Linked DNA regions of Homo sapiens: region 2 is linked to region 1. The links are contacts of gene promoters, found by promoter capture Hi-C in human tissues and cell types (Jung and others, 2019). All regions are on one chromosome and are shown on one strand. The core of a region is centred on a gene start or on the middle of the fragment in contact, and the rest is flanking DNA. Distances in the headings are between cores, read along the strand shown. Region 1 holds the start of ZNF70 (zinc finger protein 70). Region 2 has its middle 43 kb from the start of VPREB1.

Region 1 (6,930 bases), core at 3,766-6,265:
CAAACTAGCTGCTGACCTCCGGCTTCCTCCTCTCCCTCTGGTGCATGCCCTACACTAACAATGGAGTCAAATATCCAAAACATAAGCCTGATTATGGTGGTTCCCTTTTTTTTTTTTTTTTTTTTTTTGAGATGGAGTTTCACTCTTTCACCCAGGCTGGAGTGCAGTGGCACGATCTTGGATCACTGCAACCTCTGCCTTCCAACTTCAAGTGATTCTCCTGCCTTGGCCTCCCGAGTAGCTGGGATTACAAGCGCCCACCACCATTCTTGGCTAATTTTTGTATTTTTAGTAGAGACCGGGATTCACCATGTTGGCCAGGCTGGTCTCAAACTTCTGATCTCAAGTGATCTGCCTGCCTTGGCCTCCCAAAGTGCTGGGATTACAGGCGTGAGCCACCATGCCTGGCCTGGTGGTTCCCTTCTTAGGATCTTGTGACAGCCCAACTCCTTCACACCTGGCCCTTCCAATCCATCTCCTGTCTGTCTGCCCCATACACCTCTTCTTTTTTATTTGAGATAGGCTCTTGCCCGTTGCCCAGGCTGGAGTATAGTGGTGTGATCTTGGCTCACTGCAACCTCTGCCTCCCAGGCTCAAGTGATCCTCCCACCTCAGCCTCCTGGGACTGCAAGTGTATGCCACCACACTCTGCTAATTTTTTTAATTCTTTCTTTTTGTAGAGATGAGGTCACACTGTATTGCCCAGGCTGGTCCCCCCAACACTTCTAATTTTCCAGCTCAATGACTAATTTGCACTGCTGTTGTCTGGTCCTAACAGGTAAGGACCATTCTCAGACTGCCACTTGCTCATCCTTCAGGACTCGTCCAAATGTCCCTTTTTCTCTGCACCCTCAGGTTCTTGACCATCTCAGGCCCCCATCGTTAGCTTGAAAATTCCCTAAGGGCAAATACTGTGCTCCTTCATTTCAGAATCCCCAGCCCCCAGCACAAAAGCACAATCCCAATGTACACAGTTGTTGAATAAATTATCAAATGGAGGAAAAGCCATTTGTTTTTCTAGAACTGTCACTTTTTTTGGTCAAAGAACACTTTAGTCAAATAAGTCAACTGTCTAGGACAGGGGTCCCCAACCCCCAGAGTGGGGGACAGGCACCAGTCTGTGGCCTGTTAGGAACCAGGCCGCATAGCAGGAGGTGAGCGGAAGGTGAGCGAGCATTACAGCCTGAACTCTGCCTCCTGTCAGATGAGCAGTGGCATTAGATTCTCATAGGAACTGGAACCCTATCGTAAACTGTGCATACGAGGGATTTGGTTGTGCACTCTTTATGAGAATCTAACACCTGATGATCTGAGGTGGAACAGTTTCATCTCAAAACCATCCCCCATGTCCCCCACCCATTCATGGAAAAATTGTCTTCTGCAAAACTGGTCCCTGATGCCAAAAAGGTTGGGGATCACTGGTCTAGGAGACATAAATAAATAAAACAGACAAGTCCGGGCGCGGTGGCTCACACCTGTAATCCCAGCACTTTGGGAAGCCGAGGTGGGCAGATCACGAGGTCACGAGATCGAGACCATCCTGGCTAACACGGTGAAACCCCATCTCTACTAGAAATACAAAAAAATTAGCCAGGCGTGGTGGCAGGTGCCTGTAGTCCCAGCTACTCGGGAGGCTGAGGCAGGAGAATGGCGTGAACTCAGGAGGCAGAGCTTGCGAGATCATGCCACTGCACACCAGCCTGGGCAACAGAGTGAGACTCCGTCTCAAAAAATAAATAAATAAATAAAAATAAAAATAAAATAAAACAGACAAAAGCAGAGCTGCTCCAGTTGAAGGAGGGCGCGTTAGCAGGGACAAGGAAGGAAGCTAGAACAGCCCACTCAGCACTCCCCCTCCCAGATGTGGCCCCTGAGGAAGCCCCAAAGAGCCCTATTCAGAAACTTCTGTGCTAGATAAAGGCAAAGTCTTCAGGTGACACAATAATGATAGCAACAGCTCATATTCACTGAGCACCTACTCTGTGCTAGGCACTAATAGGTCCTTCAAGGCACCTCATTTAATCTTCACAACTCTATACAAAGGCACAATTATCCTTATACTGCATCTAGAGAGTAACTGCCTCAGAAAAAAAAAAAAAACTAAATTAATCAGAACAGTCATAACAGAACTCATTTCTACTTGGAAAAAAAAATTTTTTTTGAGACAGGGTCTCACTCTGTCACCCAGGCTGGAGTGCAGGAGTAGAATCACAGCTCACTGCAGCCTTGACCTCCCCGGCTCAACTGATCCTCCAACCTCAGCCTCTCAAGTAGCTGGGACTACAGGGGCATATCAACACATCCAGCTAATTTTTTAATTTTTCTGTAGAGATGAGATAATATTATGTTGCCCAGGCTGGTCTTGAACTCCTGGGCTCAAGCAGTCCTCCCACCTCTGCCTCCCAAAGTGCTGGATTACAGGCATGAGCCACCATGCCCAGCAGAAATGATTTTTTTTTTTTTTTGAGGTGGAGTCTCACTCTTGTTGCCCAGCCAGGAGTGCAATGGCCCAATCTCGGCTCACTGCAACCTCTGCCTCCTGGGTTCAAGCAATTCTCCTGCCTCACCCTCCTGAATAGCTGGGATTACAGGCACCCGCCACCAGGCCCGGATAATTTTTGTATTTTTAGTAGAGATGGGGTTTCACTATGTTGGCCAGGCTGGTCTCGAACTCCTGACCTCAGGTGATCCGCCCACCTTGGCATCCCAAAGTGCTGGGATTACAGGTGTGAGCCACCACGCCCAGCCCAGAAATGATTTTTTTAAATGATTTTTCAGCCAATAGACCGACTGGATATAAAAAAAAAAGAGCACTGAACTAAAGTATTTTCTTTTTCCAGAATGGAGTGCAGTAGTGTGATTACAGCTCACTGGAACCTCTGGCTCCTGGGTTCAAGTGATTCTCCTATCTCAGCCTCTTAAGTAGCTAGGACACCATCCTGGCTAACACGGTGAAACCCTGTCTCTATTAAAAATACAAAAAAGGCCGGACGCGGTGGCTCACGCCTCTAATCCCAGCACTTTGGGAGGCCGAGGTGGGTGGATCATGAGGTCAGGAGTTCAAGACCAGCCTGGCCAAGATGGTGAAACCCCGTCTCTACTAAAATTACAAAAATTACAGCGCGTCTGTAATCCCAGCTACTCCGGGAGGCTGAGGCAGGAGAATCGCTTGAACCTGGGGGGCGGAGGTTGCAGTGAGCCGAGATCGCGCCACTGCACTCTAGCCTGGGTAACAGAGCGAGACTCCATCTCAAAAAAAAAAAAAAAAAAAAAAAAAAAAAAAAAGCCGGCCGTGGTGGCAGGTGCCTGTAGTCCCAGCTACTTGGGAGGCTGAGGCAGGAGAATGGCGTGAACCCAGGAGGCGGAGCTTGCAGTGAGCCGAGATCGCGCCACTGCACTCCAGGCTGGGCGACAGGACGAGACTCCGTCTCAAAAAAAAAAAAAAAAAAAAAAAAAAAGTAGCTGGGAATACAGGCTCTACAGGCACGTGCCACACCTGGCTAATTTTTGTATTTTTTGTAGAGATGGGTTTTCGCCATGTTGTGCAGACTGGTCTCGAATTTCTGAGCTCATGCGATCCACCCATTTTGGCCTCCGAAAGTGCTGGTATTATAGGCGTGAGCCCCCTCGCCCAGCCCTAAAGTATTTTCAAAAATTCTTTGATCACTTCAACTCCTCTCACCCTCCCCCTCCTCTTCAGCAACCCATAATCTCCAACTCTTCCAGCTCTCTCACTCAATTTGTGCTTTTCGACCTCATGAAATCCAAGCCATTTTTACTGTAGTTCTCCTTTTCTAGCTCCACCCCTTCTCCATCCAGCTTAGACTCTCCATACTATGCGCATCACTTCAACTCTCACGCTCTAGCACCATGCTCCTCACCTCCTCGTCCGGCTGCAACTAGCCGCTAAGTCCCAGTCTTCTCGGCCAGTTCCTCCTAAGTTGTTAAATGTTGCCAAGAAAAATCATACAACTATGTATGGCACCACGACAAATTTCGAGTTTCCGATTTCAGCTGGGACCTCAGCTCTGGCATTCTATGACCTCCTTATTGCCAATCCCTCTCTTCTCGGTCTTCACCTTCCCACCCCATCTGGCACTGCTCTCCAATACCTCCTTCTCAAAACCCTTCATTTCAGAGGTTGCAAATTGGCAGCCTGAAGATCCTGCTATGTTATGTTTGGCTCTCGAAGAGTTTGGCTTTTCCTGTTCATTTTCCTTAGTTACCAATATTTAAAACTCAGTAGGTTTCTGGCTTTCTCTTGAAAAACGAAGATGTGACAATATCCCTTCACCCGCCCACATTGCCTACCTAGGTGCATGAAAGCTTTGAGCTACCCCCCAACCCCATCCCCACCCTCGCTTTCTTCCCAATTTTCATGGCTTCCAAGTTCTCTTTCTTGATATCTTTAGATTGCAACTCTTCCTCCGCCCACCCATTAAGTCCTGGTGTTCTCAAACTTCCCTCCGTAGAGGTTTTCCATTCCCACTATATAGCCCCTACACCCTGAAGTCTCCACTCAGAAAAAAGTTGGCAACCCTTTATCTGTCTCCCACAACATGATAAGTGTTTTTGGACCGAAAATGCAAAGATCTGGAACTCCATGCTTCCCACCTCTGTCGGGGCCTTCTCCGGGTCCTCCTGCATCTGTCATCCCATCCTCCAGAGAGTCCCTAGGGCCTGGGCACCCTGCAAACTCTTAGTGCAGTCAAGGTTTCCTGGCTGGGGGCCCAAGAGTTGCCACGGACCCGCACACGCTGCCCAGGCGGCGACGTGGCGCCCCTACAGGCTTCCCCGCGATTGGGGACACGCACACCCAGGGCCACCGGAGGGACAGGTGGTCAGGCGGACTCAGGTCACACCGGCGGACGCGGGGCCACTCACCTGGGCCGGGGCGGGGCAGCTCACCTGGGCCGGGGCGGGGCCGCAGGCGGGCGGGGCGGGGCCGCACCTGAGCTGCTCCAACCCGCGGCCGACGCGGCCGACGCTGCCTGGCTCCACAGCAGCTGCTGACGCGGAGCCCGCGGCCGCCCGAGCACCCAGAGCCCCGCCCCCGGCCCGCGGGCACTTCCGGGACCACTCTAGGCCGCGCGGAGGTCCCGGCGTCTCGGTGGTCCCACCGCGCCGGTTGTCGCCGCGCGAAGCCGCCCGGGCCCCGGGACACAAGGACCCGAATCAGGAGAGTCTCTCCAGTCGGCATGGTGGCTCTGGCCGTCCCCGAAGCGCGTGCTGGACGTGGGGGAAACAGAGATGGGCAGGCGTTGGCAGGAGAGCAGAGGAGGAAACAGGTCCGGACGGGCGGGCCGACCTCGAGCCGCCGGCACTCGGGGCATCTGCGCTGGTGCTGGGTGCAAGCCAGAAGCCACTGAGGCAGCTGGGGTCTTCAGGGAAAGGAGAGTGGAGCCCCAGAGCTGTCGACCCTGTCACTGTCCACAGGCACCGGGGTCCTGTTAGGATCCCCCTCCCCCAACCTGCTTCAAGGGTAGCCCTGTTCCTGTCTGCCCTCCCCGCCCCCACAGAAATAGAGATGAGAAGGGGCAGGCGAAGAACTAGGAGTGTCTGCGAGACCATCCCAGGACCCTGAGCCCCCCAACTCTCTGCATCCCAGGGCTGACTTCGACATGAAGCGCCTCCTCTCAGGCGCACCGGGAGGGAAGAGGAATGTGTTCTTGAAATGGCCGCCCCCTTGGCCGGGCGCGGTGGCTCACGCCTTTAATCCCAGCATTTTGGGAGGCGGAGGCGGGTGGATCACGAGGTCAGGAGTTCGAGACTCAGCCAGACCAACATGGTGAAACCCTGTTTCTACTAAAAATTATCCGGGAGTGGTGACAAGCGCCTGTAATCCCAGCTACTGAGACAGGAGAATCGTTTGACCCTGAGAGGCGGAGGTTGCAGTGAGCCAAGATAGTGCCATTGCACTCCAGCCTGGGCGACAGAGCGAGACTCCATCTCAAAAAACAAAAAAAAAAAAAAGAAAAGGAATCTCCGCCCCCTCCTTGCTGCTGATGGCAAGACTGGCCCCTCCACCCAGTGTTCTGCCCATGACACCCCCCCCTCAGGTGCAGCTGCCCAGCTTGTGGGAGAGCTTCCCTCCGCAGACCTTGGCCCAATCACAGGACATCAGGAGAACACACTGTCCCTGGGAAAAAGGATTCTGCCCCAGCCGCCCACCTGCCTTCAGCACCCTCAGCCTTGGCGCTCGAGTGCCTCCAATGCTACCCACACACACCTGCCTTCCTGCCCCATTAATGCTCTGTCGGGCCTTGGGCACAGACTCCAAGGGGTAGGCAGTGGCTGCCCCTCCCCAAGCCAACAGCCTGAGCTCCATGGGGACCAGCCACCCTAGAGCCATAACCCTTGGACCATAACCAGCCATGCAGAGTTGGGGGCGGCAAGGGCTGGTTCCTTTTTCTCCCTCCGGCTCCTCAGGTCACAGGAAGGTCAGGCTACCAGTTTGAGCCCCCAGGGGGCCATGGTGGGGGAGTCTGGGCCATGCCCCAATAGTCTCAGGTGCTTCCTCTTTGACAACAGTCCCCAGAATCCCCATTCCCCCGCACACTGCTCCCCACCCCAGGAGTGGGTCTTCGACTCCCAGACCCACCACAGTCATTTTTCTCAGCCAGGATCTTATGACCCTCACAATAGCTGTTGTTGACATGTTGAATATTATTAACCCATTTTACAGAGGGGAAGCAAGGCTCAGAGAAAGTTTAAAAGGGACCCAAGGTCAGGGGCAGAAATGGGAGGCAGAGGGGAGGCACCCATCTCACACCCCACCCCTAGGGACTAAAGCCGTAGCCAACAGAGCAGTAGTAATCCGCGTCGTCTTCAGGCTGCACGGGACTAATGGTGAGGACACAGGCATTGTGGGCCTCATCCTTGGCTGCCGAGAATCGATCGGGGATGTCAGCAGGCCGGTGGTGATCCTCC
Region 2 (6,542 bases), core at 3,973-6,472, 1.5 Mb before region 1:
GGGGGTAACAACCATCCCTCAGGGACCTCAGGGAATTTCCCAGCCCCATGTTAGGCAGTTTGGCCTCCCTGGCCATCTCTGGGCTCCAGGCTGGCGACGGTGCTGATTTTCACTATTTAGCACAGAATGGCAGCCTCGCTGATTATTCTCTGATTATCTGGATGCTCTGTGACTCCTTCTGTGCATCTCTGGGATCATCATTCAGACTCACCTGCACCCTGAGCAGTAACATCAATGTTGTTTGCTATGACATTTACTGGAAACATGACAGGGCAGGGAGCCTTCCCTCCCTGGTATCTACTGAGATTCTACTGAGATTCAAGCAGAACCAGGGCTCAGGGTCCCCAGCCTCTTCTCCGTGTGAGTGGGTGCCGTCGCCAGTGCTGAGGTTTTCCATATCTTTGGTCTCAAGCTTGAGGATGAGGCTACTCATGGCACAGTAGTGCCTCTCACAGTGCCATGGATGGGATGTTCTCTCTAAAATAGAAGTCTTTTTTTTTTTTAGTTTGGCCCCTTTGATAAGTAGATTCTATAATAATTAAAGAAAAAAAGTAATGTCTTTTTTGGAGGGTAGAAACACTGGTGAAAGAGAAACCGGGAAGGACTTGGCATGGGGGGTGGGTGGGCTTCAGGCCACGGCTCTGACCCCCACGAAAGGAGAGAAGGAAGGGGGATTAGTAGGAACTGCCCCAGCCCACAGGCAGGTCAGACGTCAGACAAAGCCTCAGCCGACTGAGTGGGTTCTTTCCCAGGGGTGCCCATTAGAAGTGCCCTGCTTCCTGCAGGAAGACCTGGCTGGAGGGACCCTGGGGTCCTCATTGCCTGGAGCCAGCCCAGGGGCAGGGGACATGTTAGTCACTTGTGGTCCTCCTGCAGGTTCTCCCAAAGAGGCATCTGAGTGGGACACTTCCATAGCCGCCACCAGCACTGCTGCTGCATTCCCCCTCAGGACAGGGGTAGTGCCTTCCTTCCCTGGCTCATCTACCTGAGCCCCATGTGAAGTCAAAGCTTAGGTGTCTCAGGGCTTTCCCCCAACAGGCCCTGCAGCCACTGAGACCCTTATATACCCTGAGCTGCATGCTGTGGAGAGAGGGTCTGTGGAAGACCTTGGCTCTTAGCCATCGACTCCTCTGGGGAACACCATGAAATCCTCAGACTGGGGATGTCCTCTGGAGCCATCTTTATCCTCTTCTTCTTCCCAGTATCTCCTGCTCCATGATCTGGGTCCTGTCCCTGGCCCTGTTGCATCTCCAGTGTCTGATCCATGCCAGCCCTTCCTTAAATATGTGTTGAACCCATTTCCCATTTGCCCAAGAAATGAGTGCTGGCAACGAGCTGCACTTTTTTTTTTCTAAATGGGAAATGGGTCAATAAATGAATGAATGAATGAATGAATGAATAACAACGCAACCTGAGTCTCCTGTCACATGGTTATTTTAAGACCTGCATTTTTCTTTACCCAGGAGGAAAATGAGTCCCTGCAGCTGTTATTGCCTCTGAATTGAGCTAACTTGTTTCTACACTGTCATGCCATGGTCACAGTGGGACAGATGTACACCAAGCCTACCATAGCTTTCAGCCCTGCCCTTCCACCCGCCCCGCCTGTGGCAGTGATGGCATCAAGGCTTCCCTCAGAGTCGGCCTCTACCCACCACACACTCTGGGCCATCTCCTGCTCTCTGACAGCCTGGGGTTCAGTGATCCCTGTCCATGTGTCCTACCTCAGAGACACCTGCCACTCCTCCCCTTCCCTAATTTCTCTGCCATCCTGTTTCTCCAGCCTCCCAGGAATGTCCCCTGCCCAATCTCCTGTCTCAGGTTCTAGAACTTGTCCTGGAACTTCCCCAGAGCTGAGTCTCTAATAGGAGAGCTGATGACAGGCACAGCCGCGGTCAAGCCCTCTAGCCAGCAGATGGAGGAGAATCAGCCTGAGGGCCCTGTGCATCCTCCCTGCTGCACACCTGGGCCCATAGCCCCCTCCACCCTCCATATGCTCCTGCAGCCCCCACCTCAGTGTCTGCCTCAGTGTCTCCTCCCAGCACCTTCCTCAGGAAGGGCCTGAGATCTTGCATGGTGTGTTTCCCCTTGGTGAACTCCTAGTCACAGCAGCATCCTGAGTAAGAGCCTCCTGGTGAAGAGATCGTCTTGGTGCTCCACCCTGGCATTGTGTCCTCAGCTCCAGGGCAGGTCACATGCTTTCCTGGACCAAGATTACATGCAGTCCACCCCTGCTGGCCCCTGCCCCACAGAGGGAGGCCCGGGGTCAGGGGTGGCACCAAGACCACAGCTCCACTGATCCCTGTAGGAATTCTTCCTGCATGTTTGAAAGACAAGAGTTACAGAAACAAAGCAGAGGGAAGATTCTGGATCATTGCAAAAGGAGAAATTTGCCTGCAGACCAGCAGGGGGCGCGGTGAGAACTTCTCTGTGTATTTCTGCAGGACAGGTGCTCACAGCTGGGGAGCCCTCAACTGACAGAGGCCCAGGGCTGCTCCTTCACTTCCTCCTGGGACTCTGCAGCCTTGTCTCATCTGTGCCTGGCAGAGTCCTCTACACATGACCCTGTGTGTGGTCCCAGCAGCTGCTGCTTTCTCTGGTCCCACCCGTGGGGCAAACTCTTGCTTCATGCCAGCCTCCCTGTCCAAGGGTCTGGTCCCTGCGAGTGCACCTGCGGGAGAGGCAATGGGGAAACACATTTGCATGGTCAGCCCCTCCTCTGTGAGCCCAGTGACGCTGGGATAAGAGAGGCCTGGGGCAGCCCACCCCTAGGTCTGTGGCCTCAGAGGCAGCTGTGTCCACTATGGCCCTGACTCCTCTCCTCCTCCTGCTCCTCTCTCACTGCACAGGTAGGGACAGGGCTCAGAGCCCAGGGTGGTCCCCAGCCTGATCTGTCCCTCATGGCTCAGATCCCTCAGCAGCTGCGCCCTGACCCTGCTCCTCACTGTGCTGTGTCTGTGTCTGCAGGTTCCCTCTCCCGGCCCGTGCTGACTCAGCCGCCCTCCCTGTCTGCATCCCCGGGAGCAACAGCCAGACTCCCCTGCACCCTGAGCAGTGACCTCAGTGTTGGTGGTAAAAACATGTTCTGGTACCAGCAGAAGCTAGGGAGCTCTCCCAGGTTATTCCTGTATCACTACTCAGACTCAGACAAGCAGCTGGGACCTGGGGTCCCCAGTCGAGTCTCTGGCTCCAAGGAGACCTCAAGTAACACAGCGTTTTTGCTCATCTCTGGGCTCCAGCCTGAGGACGAGGCCGATTATTACTGCCAGGTGTACGAAAGTAGTGCTAATCACAGTGAGACAGATGAGGAAGTCGGACAAAAACCAAGGTTTTAAGCTTGTCATTTTTACTGAACTGGTTAAGAACTTCAGTGGTTAATAAAATCACATTAAATACTGGATTGTTGTTAAAAATGGTGGCACATTATAACTCTCTCCCATTTTTTTCACATAATGCCCATAGTGACTCTAAGCAGCTAAAATCAAAACACAAAAACTTATACCAATACTAAGAAATACTAACATTACTAACCAATTTCCACTAGTAAAAGAGTTGTGAAACAGCTGAAATACATCCAGATGGCATAATACATAATACCACTATATACAAGAGTTGTATAAAATTATGTATCATGTATATATAAAATTATGTATCATGTATATGTATAATATATGAAATAAAATGTCAGCAGACATTACCGTCTTCCCACCAGTAGCCAGCAATTCTGCCCTGCCTCTAGAATAAATGGTTACCATGGGTTGAATAGGTGAACAGCCCTGGCAGCTCTGCAGGATGACTCTCACTGTTTGTTATTGTTTTATTTTTAAGATTGCTTTTCTTTCCTTTTTTTTTTTGAGGCAGAGTCTTGCTGTCAGCGAGGCTGGAGTGCAGTGCAGTGAGCTGGGCTCACTGCAACCTAAGCCTCCCTGGTTCAAACGATTCTCCTGCCTCAGCCTCCTGAGTAGCTGGGATACAGGCGTGCGCCACCATGCCTGGCTAAATTTTTTGTATTTTTTAGTAGAGACGGGGTTTCACCATGTTGGTCAGGCTGGTCTGGAACTCCTGACTTCGGGATCCGCCGTCCTCGGCCTCCCAAAGTGCTGGGATTACAGGCGTGAACCACCGTGCCCGACCTCTTTTTTTTTTTTTTTTTTTTTTGGTTTTGTTAGTTTAGTTTTGTTTTATCTCTTTAACTTGACAGAGATGATCCATGTGGATCTCTGCATGGGTCTGGGAGCTGCAAGGCTCCTGGTGCATGGCCCAGTCCCGCCTGCCTTGGCAGGGCTCCTCCACCTGGCTCCTGGAGGAGCTGCTGCGCCCGACTACCCTGCATGGAGCCCGCGGCTTAGCGGCAGCTCGGGAGGGGCCTGATAGAAACTTCCCCCTGAGCAAGCAGCGCCAAACCCAGGCCGCCACCCAGGATGGAGGCTGCATCACCCCCGGGGAGCCCGGATCCTCGCCAGGGTCCACCAGGAGAAGAGCACATGGCGGAGATGAGCCTGCGGGGCTGGGAGAGAGAGAAGACACGGCGAAGATGCAGGTGAAGACGCTGCACTAAGGCCCCACCCAGAGGCTGAGGTTCCCCGACCAGACCAGCAGCAGCGAGGCTGCCCAGAGCGGCGCCAGCAAGGTGGTTCTCTCCAGGTCGGATCACAGGAGAAGCTAGCCTTGCACCTGGCCCAGGCGAGAAGCAGGACATGGGCTTACGCAGAAGAATCAGCACCGATTCCACATCATTCCCCATGGCAACGGCCTCTACGGTGCTGTCAGCAAGACCCAGTGCTAGACCCGAGCCTGCACCAGGAGCTGCGGAGCGGAGGGTGCGCCCCATCCCGATCGTCTCCACCACTTTAGCTCCCTGGGTGAGGGTGACACGGGGAAGCTTATTATCGCGGCTGCCCAAAACGGGGCGTGGCTGGGTACCCTGTGTACATAGGGTAGATGCTGAATGTGAATAGCACTGAACTACTAGAGGGAGGCTGGAGAGGCCCACAGTGTCTATCTACCATGATTCATTATTTGGGCCCAGAGGATTGCCTAAAGCCTAGTATTTGGCTCAGTTGGCTCAGTAACGGGCACTAGGATGCAGTATTTGATCACTCCTATCCTAACCAAGTACGACAACTGGTGCAAACAGACTCAAAAGCAAAAGGCAACGCAATGAATAACTTGCTCACTCTGGGGCCACATATTCTGAATAAAATGCCTACCCTTGAAATGTCTGAAAACCTTACACCCTGGGAAAATTGCATACAGAACTTGTGCTTGGAGAATGACATGAACTCTAATCAGGGTAATAACACTTGTAAAGTTCCTAACAGCTTTTCTTTCCTTTTTTTTTTTTTTTTTTTTTTTGAGATGGAGTTTCGCAGTGTTGCCCAGGCTGGAGTGCAGTGGCGCGACCTCGGCTCACTGCAAGCTCCGCCTCCTGGGTTCACGCCATTCCCCTGCCTCAGCCTCCCGAGTAGCTGGGACCACGGGTGCCCACCACCACGCCCGGCTAATTTTTTGTATTTTTAGTAGAGACGGGGTTTCACGGTGTTAGCCAGGATGGTCTCAATCTCCTGACCTCGTGATCCACCCGCCTCGGCCTCCTACAGCGCTGGGATTACAGGCGTGAGCCACCGCAGCTGGCACTTCCTAATAGCTTTTCTGTGAGTGTAACGCCATAATCATCTTTTAAAATGTTTTCTCGGAACTAAAAGTTGCTGGGCGCCTAAATGATGTTGCATGATAGTTTTGGGTGATTTTACTGCATCTGTAATTTTCTGTTTAAGTGAGCACTGCTTAATTTGAAAGCTAATTTCTCACAGTGTAAATCTGTTCATTCCTGGTAGTCTATTTTCTACAAAAGTGTATTTTTACACAACATTAAAAAATGGTGTACCTTCATCTATGACAGTACATTACTTTTGACAAGCAGCTTTCAGGCAGAAATTAAGAGAAGTGTTTTATATAAAATTTATTATTTTGAACAGAGTTTGTGATTTGGTAGTTACGCTGTTGAAATTTGAATTTTACAATTCTTAGAAACTTATATTGATGCATTCTTGTTACCAAATGATTGGCCCATTACATTTTGATACAAATAGATTTGTTGTTTTGGAACCATTATTTGTTTAGAAATGGTCAATCTTTTAGAGAGAAATACTTAACAAAGGATTGTGGGAAGTTTTTTTTTTTCTTCTTCTTTAACGGATTGTACCAGGTCTTACTTGAATGAAAGTCTGATGCTTGCTGATGGCAGAGTGACTAATCTGCACTAGATTGATGTTAGAGCAGAATGTTGGGTGATCTCAATTGTTTTTATTTATGTTTGTGATTTTGTTTTAAGGTAATCTTAACATGGTATAAGACTCTGTGACAAGCTAAACCTACTGCAATATAGCATGTTGGAGTCCCCTAAGAGTTTTAAAAGCTAATGGCATAAATGCCTGGAGCCAACCTCGGCAGTTATTTCATAGCAGAAGATACCGTCTTAATACTCCTTTTAAATTCTTTTAAAAGGCAAAATAGGATCATCCTATTTTATAATGTACAAATGT

The links. The method cuts DNA at HindIII sites, captures the fragments that hold promoters and counts their contacts. A contact is called where the count stands out against the background at its distance.
Region 2: a contact is called between a fragment that was not itself captured here and the fragment with the promoter of ZNF70 in region 1, in 1 of the 25 tissues and cell types used here (spleen).

What each region holds. Positions count from the first base shown.
Region 1 is chr22:23,746,097-23,753,026 of GRCh38, forward strand. ZNF70 (zinc finger protein 70) reads right to left here and starts at 5,016. Exons shown (of 2, transcript NM_021916.4): 1 at 4,615-5,016. It overlaps VPREB3 (V-set pre-B cell surrogate light chain 3), which reads right to left. Exons shown (of 2, transcript NM_013378.3): 2 at 6,647-6,930. The coding sequence ends at 6,780. RefSeq lists enhancers at 1-234, 4,774-5,449, 5,332-5,391, 6,232-6,291, 6,802-6,930 and a silencer at 4,732-5,181. The HindIII fragment of the contact is 11,413 bases long and covers 1,005-6,930 here.
Region 2 is chr22:22,198,875-22,205,416 of GRCh38, forward strand. It overlaps IGL, the pseudogene IGLVI-56, IGLV11-55 and the pseudogene LOC100419915. Among named protein-coding and RNA genes, the nearest start is that of VPREB1, 43 kb to the right of the region's middle. RefSeq lists an enhancer at 1,657-2,466 and a silencer at 2,281-2,575. The HindIII fragment of the contact is 6,097 bases long and covers 2,175-6,542 here.